Regions from separate parts of the Homo sapiens genome. Here region 1 is linked to region 2. Evidence: promoter capture Hi-C in human tissues and cell types (Jung and others, 2019). All regions are on one chromosome and are shown on one strand. Each heading gives the region's core, a stretch centred on a gene start or on the middle of the fragment in contact. The rest is flanking DNA. Distances are from core to core; before and after follow the strand shown.

Evidence for each region. The method cuts DNA at HindIII sites, captures the fragments that hold promoters and counts their contacts. A contact is called where the count stands out against the background at its distance.
Region 1: a fragment that was not itself captured here is called in contact with the fragment with the promoter of TSKS in region 2 in 1 of the 25 tissues and cell types used here (spleen).

The regions. Positions count from the first base shown.
Region 1 is chr19:50,027,841-50,031,832 of GRCh38, reverse strand. It overlaps ZNF473 (zinc finger protein 473), which reads right to left. Exons shown (of 5, transcript NM_015428.4): 2 at 742-941. The coding sequence starts at 750. Among named protein-coding and RNA genes, the nearest start is that of ZNF473, 3.8 kb to the right of the region's middle. The HindIII fragment of the contact is 4,342 bases long and covers 1-3,922 here.
Region 2 is chr19:49,762,056-49,766,377 of GRCh38, reverse strand. It overlaps TSKS (testis specific serine kinase substrate), which reads left to right and starts at 3,072. Exons shown (of 11, transcript NM_021733.2): 1 at 3,072-3,300; 2 at 4,146-4,322. The coding sequence starts at 3,131. It also overlaps the pseudogene RNU6-841P. RefSeq lists enhancers at 1-712, 4,319-4,322. The HindIII fragment of the contact is 39,317 bases long and covers 1-4,322 here.

The sequences.
Region 1 (3,992 bases), core at 502-3,001, 270 kb before region 2:
AGATGGTTTCATGCATCATTCATTGATTCATTCATTCATTCAACTAACACCTCATGAGGCTTCCTGTGTTCCTGGCCTGTGCTGGGCCCTGGGGACCCAGAGATGAATCCCCATCAGTTCCTGTCCCCAAGGAGCATCTAGTCTGGTGGGGCTGACAGATATGGGCAGGAACATCCATATCTAGGTGGATCTGTGCTACAGTGGAGGCAGCAGGGGGTACTATGGAAGGCTAGAGCAGGAAAGTGCTGACTGCCTAGGGAAGGGTGGGGGAACTGAGCCGGGTCTTAAAGGCTGTGTGAGACACTACCACATGGAAAAGGGGCAGGGAATTCCAGCAGAGGGCCCAACCTGAGCAAAGGAAGCTGCTGGAAAGTACAGAATCAACTTTTACTACTAGGCCAAAGGGAGTATTTGTTATCTAGAGAAATGACAGAAGATGGTGCAAAGAGGGTAGAAGCCAGAACACACAGGAAGGCTGAAAAACCTGGAATTTATTCTATAAGCAATAGGGGTTCCCAGAAGAGTACAAACAGGAAAGAACAGCATGCGAGCTTTCCTTTAAAAAAGATCGCCTGGGAGCCACCATGGGACAGGGAGGCCAAAACAAAGGAAGGCCAGCTTTCCTGCCATGGGGGTGACCAATCAACACAGAGCGACCTTCAACTCGCCTCGGCCACAAAGGAAGGCCAATTTTTCTGCCTTTGGGTGTGACCGATTAGGACAGAGCGACCTTCAACTCACCTCAGCCATGGCCAACTGGGGTTCAGTAGCCTCTTTTAAGCTCCTCCTCCTTCCCCTCCGTGTTCCCGGCTGGCAGGGCTGTGGGAAGCACAAGGGAGCTGTGAGAAAGCCTCCCTTCCACCCATGGCTGACTCGCTGTCCATGCTGACGAGCCCCCAAAATGTCCAGGAGGAGGAGGACAAGTCCCAATGTGAGTCTCCCTGCAGGGGACAACAACAACTATATTTACTGAAGCCACCTCAGCCCCACATTTGCACTGTGCTTCAGAACCTACAGAACAGCTTCGCCACCAACAATGGTGGGTTAGCACCTAACAGTCAGTCAGCACATGTTTAGGAGATTTGGTGATGAAAGTCTATGGCCACAGTGGGAGCTTCTGTCTTGCTCACTGCTGTGTCTTAGCACCAGCATGGTGCCTAGTACGCAGTAGGTGCTTTAACAGTAGGTGTAAAAGTACCTACAGTTGTTGACAGAACGAAGGTGTCTAAAGAACCAATGGAACAATGCTTCTGGGATTTCTGATTATCATCTCTGGAATTTGAGTTCAGGTAAATTGGCCTCCGAAACTGTTACTCTTTTTTGGAGACACGGTCTTGCTCTGTTGCCAGGCTGGAGTACTACAGTGGCACAATCATGGGCCACTGCAGCTGTAATTTCCTGGGCTTAAGCAATCCTCCAACCTCAGCCTCTCAAGCAGCTGGGACTACAAGCATGTGCCACCACATCCAGCTAATCTTTTTCACTTTTTGTAGGGACAGGATCTCACTTGTTGCCCAAGTTGTTCTCAAACTCCTGACCTCAAGTAAGCCGCCCTCGTGGGCCACCCAAAGTGCTGGGATTACAGTTGTGAGCCACCGCACCTGGCCACTATCTCTACAACAGAAATATTTCAACTTTTGTTTTAACCGTGACCCACAGTAACACCACCAATATGTAGAATAGGCCAGGCACAGTAGCTCACGCCTGTAATCTCAGTACTTTGGGAGGCCGAGGTGGGCAGATTACTTGAGGTCAGGAGTTCAAGACCAGCCTGGCCAATATGCTGAAACCCCGTCTGTACTAAGAATACAAAAATTAGCTGGGCTTGGTGGGACGTGCCTGTGATCCCAGCTACTCGGAAGGCTGAGGCAAAGAATCACTTGAACCCGGGAGGCAGAGGCTGCAGTGAACCGAGATGGTGCCACCGCACTCCAGCCTGGGCAACACAGTGAGACTCCATCTCAAAAAAGAAAAAAAAAAAGTATCATGACTACTCAAACACACAGTGTAACTAAACAAAAGCTTCATGAAGCAATACTTACCCTGCAATGTAAGATGCACTGGGATGTTTTCTATTCTAGTCTCTTTTATTCTACTTCATTAAAAAATCATAGTCACTGCCCACCTAGTTATTTTCATGACCCATAATACGCAAAACTGTACCACAGACATTTTTACCCATTTGTATCCACTGCGTGGACCAAGTAGCACATATCTGCGGAGTGCTGAAAGCATTTCATATCACAAAGCAGCACGGATCACTTAACAATGACACAGGTCCACAAATTCTTCAAACTCCAAGGCCAGATGTGCTTTGAAATTCAACTTTTATTTTCAAAAGGTGATATGGCATATACATGGCATATTTCATTAAAATCCCAGTGCAGGGCTGGCCGCAGTGGCTCATGCCTGTAATCCCAGCACTTTGGGAGGCCAAGGCAGGCGGATCACGAGGTCAGGAGATCCAGACCATCCTGGCTAACGCGGTGAAACCCCGTCTCTACTAAAAATACAATAACAAAATTAGCCAGGCATGGTGGTGGGCGCCTGTAGTCCCAGTTACTCAGGAGGCTGAGGCGAGAGAATGGTGTGAACCCGGGAGGTGGAGCTTGCAGTGAGCCGAGATGGCGCCATGCACTCCAGCCTGGGCGACAGAGCGAGACTCCGTCTCAAAAACAAAAACAAAAACAAAACAAAACAAAGTCCCAGCGCAGTGTGGATCAGGCTGCATTTCATAATTGAACACTTTACCCTAGAGAAAAGTATCATCGTTCATTCTAGGTAGAATAATTTAAAGTTATATTTAAAAAATACCCTGTAGTAGTTCAGGTAAGGCACGGACACTAAATTTATGAAAAAAAATTTGTTGTTCTGAGTTGTCCAGATTTTTGAGACTACAAATATGGGAATATGGTAGACCTACAATAAATGCTAATTCTACTGAACAATGAGTTTTTCTACATGTCAGAGGTTAAGCCTCAACCTACGAGTATAACTCAGTTGACAGATATTTGGCCCATAATGTTTGTTGGCAGACAGAATGTTTTGAAAGAAAATTCAAGCATGGCTCACTAGTCTCAAACTTGAAAATTGGGAAATTTCACCTAAAAATTATGTTTCCAACTTCTGAAACATCCTAGGATTTGGCAACATTGGGTCTACATCCCACGAAGTTAGTTCACTGGTGCCCATTTAAAGCTCCCCCACCAGTGCTAGGCAAGTGGGGGATGCTTATAATCCCAGCACTTTGGGAGGCTGAAAGGTGTTCGAGACCAGCCTGGGCAACGTAACAAGACCTTGTTTCTAAAAAAAAAAAATTAAAAATGAGCAAGTTGTGGTGGCACGTGCCTGTAGTCCCAACTACTTGGGAGACTGAGGTAGGAGGATCGCTTGGGAGGCTGAGGTAGGAGGATCACTTGAGCCCAGGAGTTCAAGGCTGCAGTGAGCTATGATTGTGTCACTGTACTCCAGCCTGAATGACAGAGAAAGATCCTGCCTCCAAAAAAAAATTAAATTTGTTTTTTTTTTTTTTTTTGAGACGGAGTCTCGTTCTGTCGCCCAGGCTGGAGTGCAGTGGCGCGATCTCAGCTCGCTGCAAGCTCTGCCTCCCGGGCTCATGCCATTCTCCTGCCTCAGCCTCCTGAGTAGCTGGGACTACAAGCGCCTGCCACCACGCCCGGAGAATTTTTTGTATTTTTAGTAGAGACGGAGTTTCACCGTGTTAGCCAGGATGGTCTCGATCTCCTGACCTCGTGATCCACCCACCTCGGCCTTCCAAAGTGCTGGGATTACAGGCATGAGCCACCACACCCGGCCAAAAAAATTAAATTTAAGTTTAAAAAGCGGCTGGGTGCAGTGGCTCATGCCTGCCATCCCAGCACTTTGGGAGGCCAAGGCAGGCGGATCACCTGAAGTTTGGAGTCCAAGACCAGCCTGATCAACATGGTGAAACCCCCGTATCTACCAAAAATACAGAAATTAGCCAGGCATGG
Region 2 (4,322 bases), core at 1,823-4,322:
CGTGTTCCCTTTCTCCCTCCACTGTCACCCCCGACTGCTGAAATCCTCTTCTAGGAAGCCTTCCTCCCCTCCCCCCTTCTCTGCAGCCAACGTGTCGGGACTTGAGTTGTCAGGAGACCTAGAATCTCAGAGTGAAAAACAGTAATTCAAGGCTAGTCCCATTAAGCAGAAGTTAAAACTTAGGTCGAGAGGGCGAATGACTTGCCCAGGGCCACACAGCTTGGAAGTGAAAAAGCAGAAATAAACGTAAACCGTATCTTGGCTTACTTTTCAATATATGTTGCCTTTTTTTTTTTGTCCAACCGCAGTGTCTCTCGGGCAGCCTCCATTGTAGCAGATATCAAACCAAAATTGATTGTCTCCTCCAGACTGGGAACTCCTTCTGGGCAAGAATGGGACCTGGCCTTGAACAGTTTCAACAACATTTGTTAAAAGAAGAAATAGGTGAATCTGCTTTGGCCCAGCCCCAGCCTCCATCCCCAACCCCCAGCTCCCCAGAGACTCTTTGGTAAACTGGCTTTGGGGAAGGCAAAACGGCCAGAACTCCCAACGCCCCAGGAGATTGAGAAATTTGGGACAAAGGGAACTGGAAGAGTCCATTTCTGTCACCTGTAGGAACAAAACTCCACCCCATCAGCCTTTTCTAATCTCAGAAGCCAAGAATTCCTGGAATGAGCCTTGGGGGTGTGTTCTGGACCTTTGGAATGGCCATTCTGAATCCTGGGAGATGGAAAGGAGGTTGAGAAGAGCCCACCTTCCAGGCTCAATGGATGCGTCCATTTGGGTTTCCAGGAATGGGGCCTGGGAAAGTCCATTTTGGATTCCAGGAGGACAGAAATTGCTCAGCTGTTTTAGTCACAGGGAGAGTCCATTTCTAATATGGGAGGGGGGTGCTGTTTGCCCCTGAAGAACATAAAGCAGCCCCATTAAACACAAGAAAAATTATTAATCCCAGGACTTGAAGTTCTTTTTTTTTTTTTTTGAGATGGAGTCTCGCTCTGTCGCCCAGGCTGGGGTGCAGTGGCGCGATCTCAGCTCACTGCAACCTCCGCCTCCCGGGTTCACGCCATTCTCCTGCCTCAGCCTCCCAAGTAGCTGGGACTACAGGCGCACGCCACCATGCCTGGCTAATTTTTTGTGTTTTTAGTAGAGACGGGGTTTCACCGTGTTAGCCAGGATGGTCTCGATCTCCTGACCTTGTGATCCGCCCACCTCGGCCTCCCAAAGTGCTGGAATTACAGGCGTGAGCCACTGCGCCCGGCCTTTTTTTTTTTTCTTTTTTTTGAGACAGAGTCTCTCTCTGTCCCCCAGGCTGGAGTTCAGTGACTCAATCTCGGCTCACTGTAACCTCTTCCTCCCGAGTTAAAGCGATTTTCCTGCCTCAGCCTCCTAAGTAGCTGGGATTACAGGCACCCGTCATCATGCTCGCCTAATTTTTGTATTTTTGTAGAGACAGTGTTTCACTATGTTGGCCAGGCTGGTCTTGAACTCCTAACCTCAGGTGATCCGCCCGCCTCGGCCTCCCAAAGTGCTGGGATTACAGGTGTGAGACACCGCGCCCAGCCAGGAGTTCTTTATTATAGAAAGATTAAGTGTTCCAAGAACTGGAGTCCATTCATGACCAGGAAGAAGTACTTTCTCCCTGGGGATAACAGCATTTAAAATGTCTATTAGCAGTGATGTTTGAACTAGTCTTTTTGAGAAGTGTGAAGAGAACAGGAAAAGTCTGTCCCTAAATAGCAGGGCAGTGCTCGCTTCGACAGCACATGTATTAACATTGGAACGATACAGAGAAGATTAGCATGGGCCCTGCGCAAAGACCACATGCAAATTTGTGACATGTTCCATATATTTTTTAAATACTTTGGGCGGGCGGGGCGCAGTGGCTCACACCTGTAATTCCAATGCTTTGGGAGGCTGAAGTGGGCAGATCACGAGGTCAGGAGTTGGAGACTAGCCTAGCCAACACAGTGAAACCCTGTCTCTACTAAAAATACAAAAAAAAAATTAGATGGGTGTGGTGGCAGGTACCTGTAGTCCCAGCTACTCAGGAGGCTGAGGCAGGAGAATCGCTTGAAACTGGGAGGTAGAGGTTGCAATGAGCCAAGATCACGCCACTGCACTCCAGCCTGGGTGTCAGAGCGAGACTCCATCTAAAAAAAAAAAAAAAAAATTATAGCGGAGCATGGTGGCTCATGTCTGTAATCCCACACTTTGGGAGGCTAAGGCGGGTGGACCATTTGAGGTCGGGAGTTTGAGACCAACTTGGCCAACATGGTGAAACCCGTCTCTACTAAAAATACAAAAATTAGCCGGACATTGTGGCCAGCGCCTGTAGTCCCAGCTACTGGGGAGGCTGAGGCAGGAGAATCGGTTGAACCCCGGGAGGTGGAGGTTGCAATGAGCTGAGATCGCGCCACTGAACTCCAGCCTCCATGACAGAGAGAGACTCTGTCTCAAAAAAAATAAAAAGTATTAAAGAAAATAATAAATAAATAAACGGGGGAGGGGGATACCACCCTCTGTCCTGCCCCAACTCTCTACCTTCCTCTCCTCCCTCACCTTCTACCCTGACCCCGAGGCCCACCGCACCTAGCTTTCTTTTGTTGATCTACCTGTATATTGCCTTTCCCCCGACCCCGACGCCCCATAGAATATGAGACCCTCCAGGTCAGGGTCTGGATCTCAGCCCTCTTCGACCACAGTCTCTCAAACCCCAGCCAATTGTCAAATCCAGGAAGCTACATGAAGAATCAAGAACAAGTGCACAGGGCTGTGTGACCCCACGCTTAGTCTCAGGGAGAGGGAAGTTGGACCTCTCCCAAGAATCCGTGGGCCGACCCATTGTTAAGTTACAGGCTAGCATGAATCCATCCACTGGAGCTCTGAAGACGGGGGGCACATTGGGCATGTAACTAGAATCCTGAACAGGAGGAGTCCACTGAGAACCCTAGGGGAATGACCTGGGCCAGCATCTCTCCCTACCCTGTGCCCCCCACTCACTGGGGCCCAGTGGTTGGGTCCTTTGTGAGGCAGGCTGAGGGGACAGTGGATCCTGAGGGTCTGTGGTCACAGTAGGTAGGAAGTCTCAGAGGAAGGAGCCCCTCCCTGGGAGCCAGACCCCCACACCATGGCGAGCGTGGTGGTGAAGACGATCTGGCAGTCCAAAGAGATCCATGAGGCCGGGGACACCCCCACGGGGGTGGAGAGCTGCTCCCAGCTAGTCCCAGAGGCTCCCCGGAGGGTGACCAGCCGGGCCAAGGGGATCCCGAAGAAAAAGAAGGCCGTGTCGTTCCACGGGTGGGTTTGTTGCACACTGTCAGGGATGGTTCTAATGCCCAGCACTACCTCCAACAGAGCAGGAGTCCGACTGTGGGTGCTAGAGGAAGGGGAGGGGGAAAAGCCAGCAGGTCGGGGGCAGGAAAGAGGGCAGCAGTGAAGAGACATCAAGTCACAGGGAGGTAGAGAGGAAGAAGGTAATGGGGATGGATGGAGGGAGGAAGAAGGTAATGGGGATGGATGGAGAGAGGAAAAAGCCAGTGGGGAGGGAAGAAGGAGAAGGGAGGCTAGTGAATGAAGAAGAAAGTAGGTGGCAGAGAAGGGAGGAGAAAGTAGGCAGCGGGGAAGGAGAAGAAGAAAGTAGACAGTGGTGGTCGGGCACGGTGGCTCACGCCTGTAATCCCAGCACTTTGGGAGGCCGAGGCAGGTGGATCATGAGGTCAGGAGTTCAAAACCAGCTTGGCCAACATGGTGAAAAGCCATCTCTACTAAAAATACTAAAATTAGCTGGGCGTGATGGCACATGCCTATAACCCCAGCTACTCAGGAGGCTGAGGCAGGAGAATTGCTTGAACTGGGACCCGCAGTCGGAGGTTGCAGTGAGCTGAGATCGCGCCACTGCACTCCAGCCTGGGCAACAGAGTGAGACTCTGTCTCAAAAAAAAAAAAAAAAGAAAGAAAGAAAAAAGAAAGAAAGTAGGCAGCACAGGGAAGGAGAATAAAGTAGGCAGCGGGGACAGAGAAGGGAGAAACTTATATACAGTGAGGGTGGAGTCACAGGGGGTGAGGTATGGAGAAAGGAAGGCAGGAGGGCCCAGACACCCTGGGGCTGCTTCTCCACTTTTCTGCCTGTTTCTTCTCTGCAGGGTGGAGCCCCAGATGTCCCATCAGCCCATGCACTGGTGCCTGAACCTCAAACGGTCCTCGGCCTGCACCAACGTGTCACTGCTCAACCTGGCCGCCATGGAGCCCACTGACTCCACGGGGACAGACTCCACAGTGGAAGACCTCAGCGGCCAACTCACACTGGCTGGGCCCCCTGC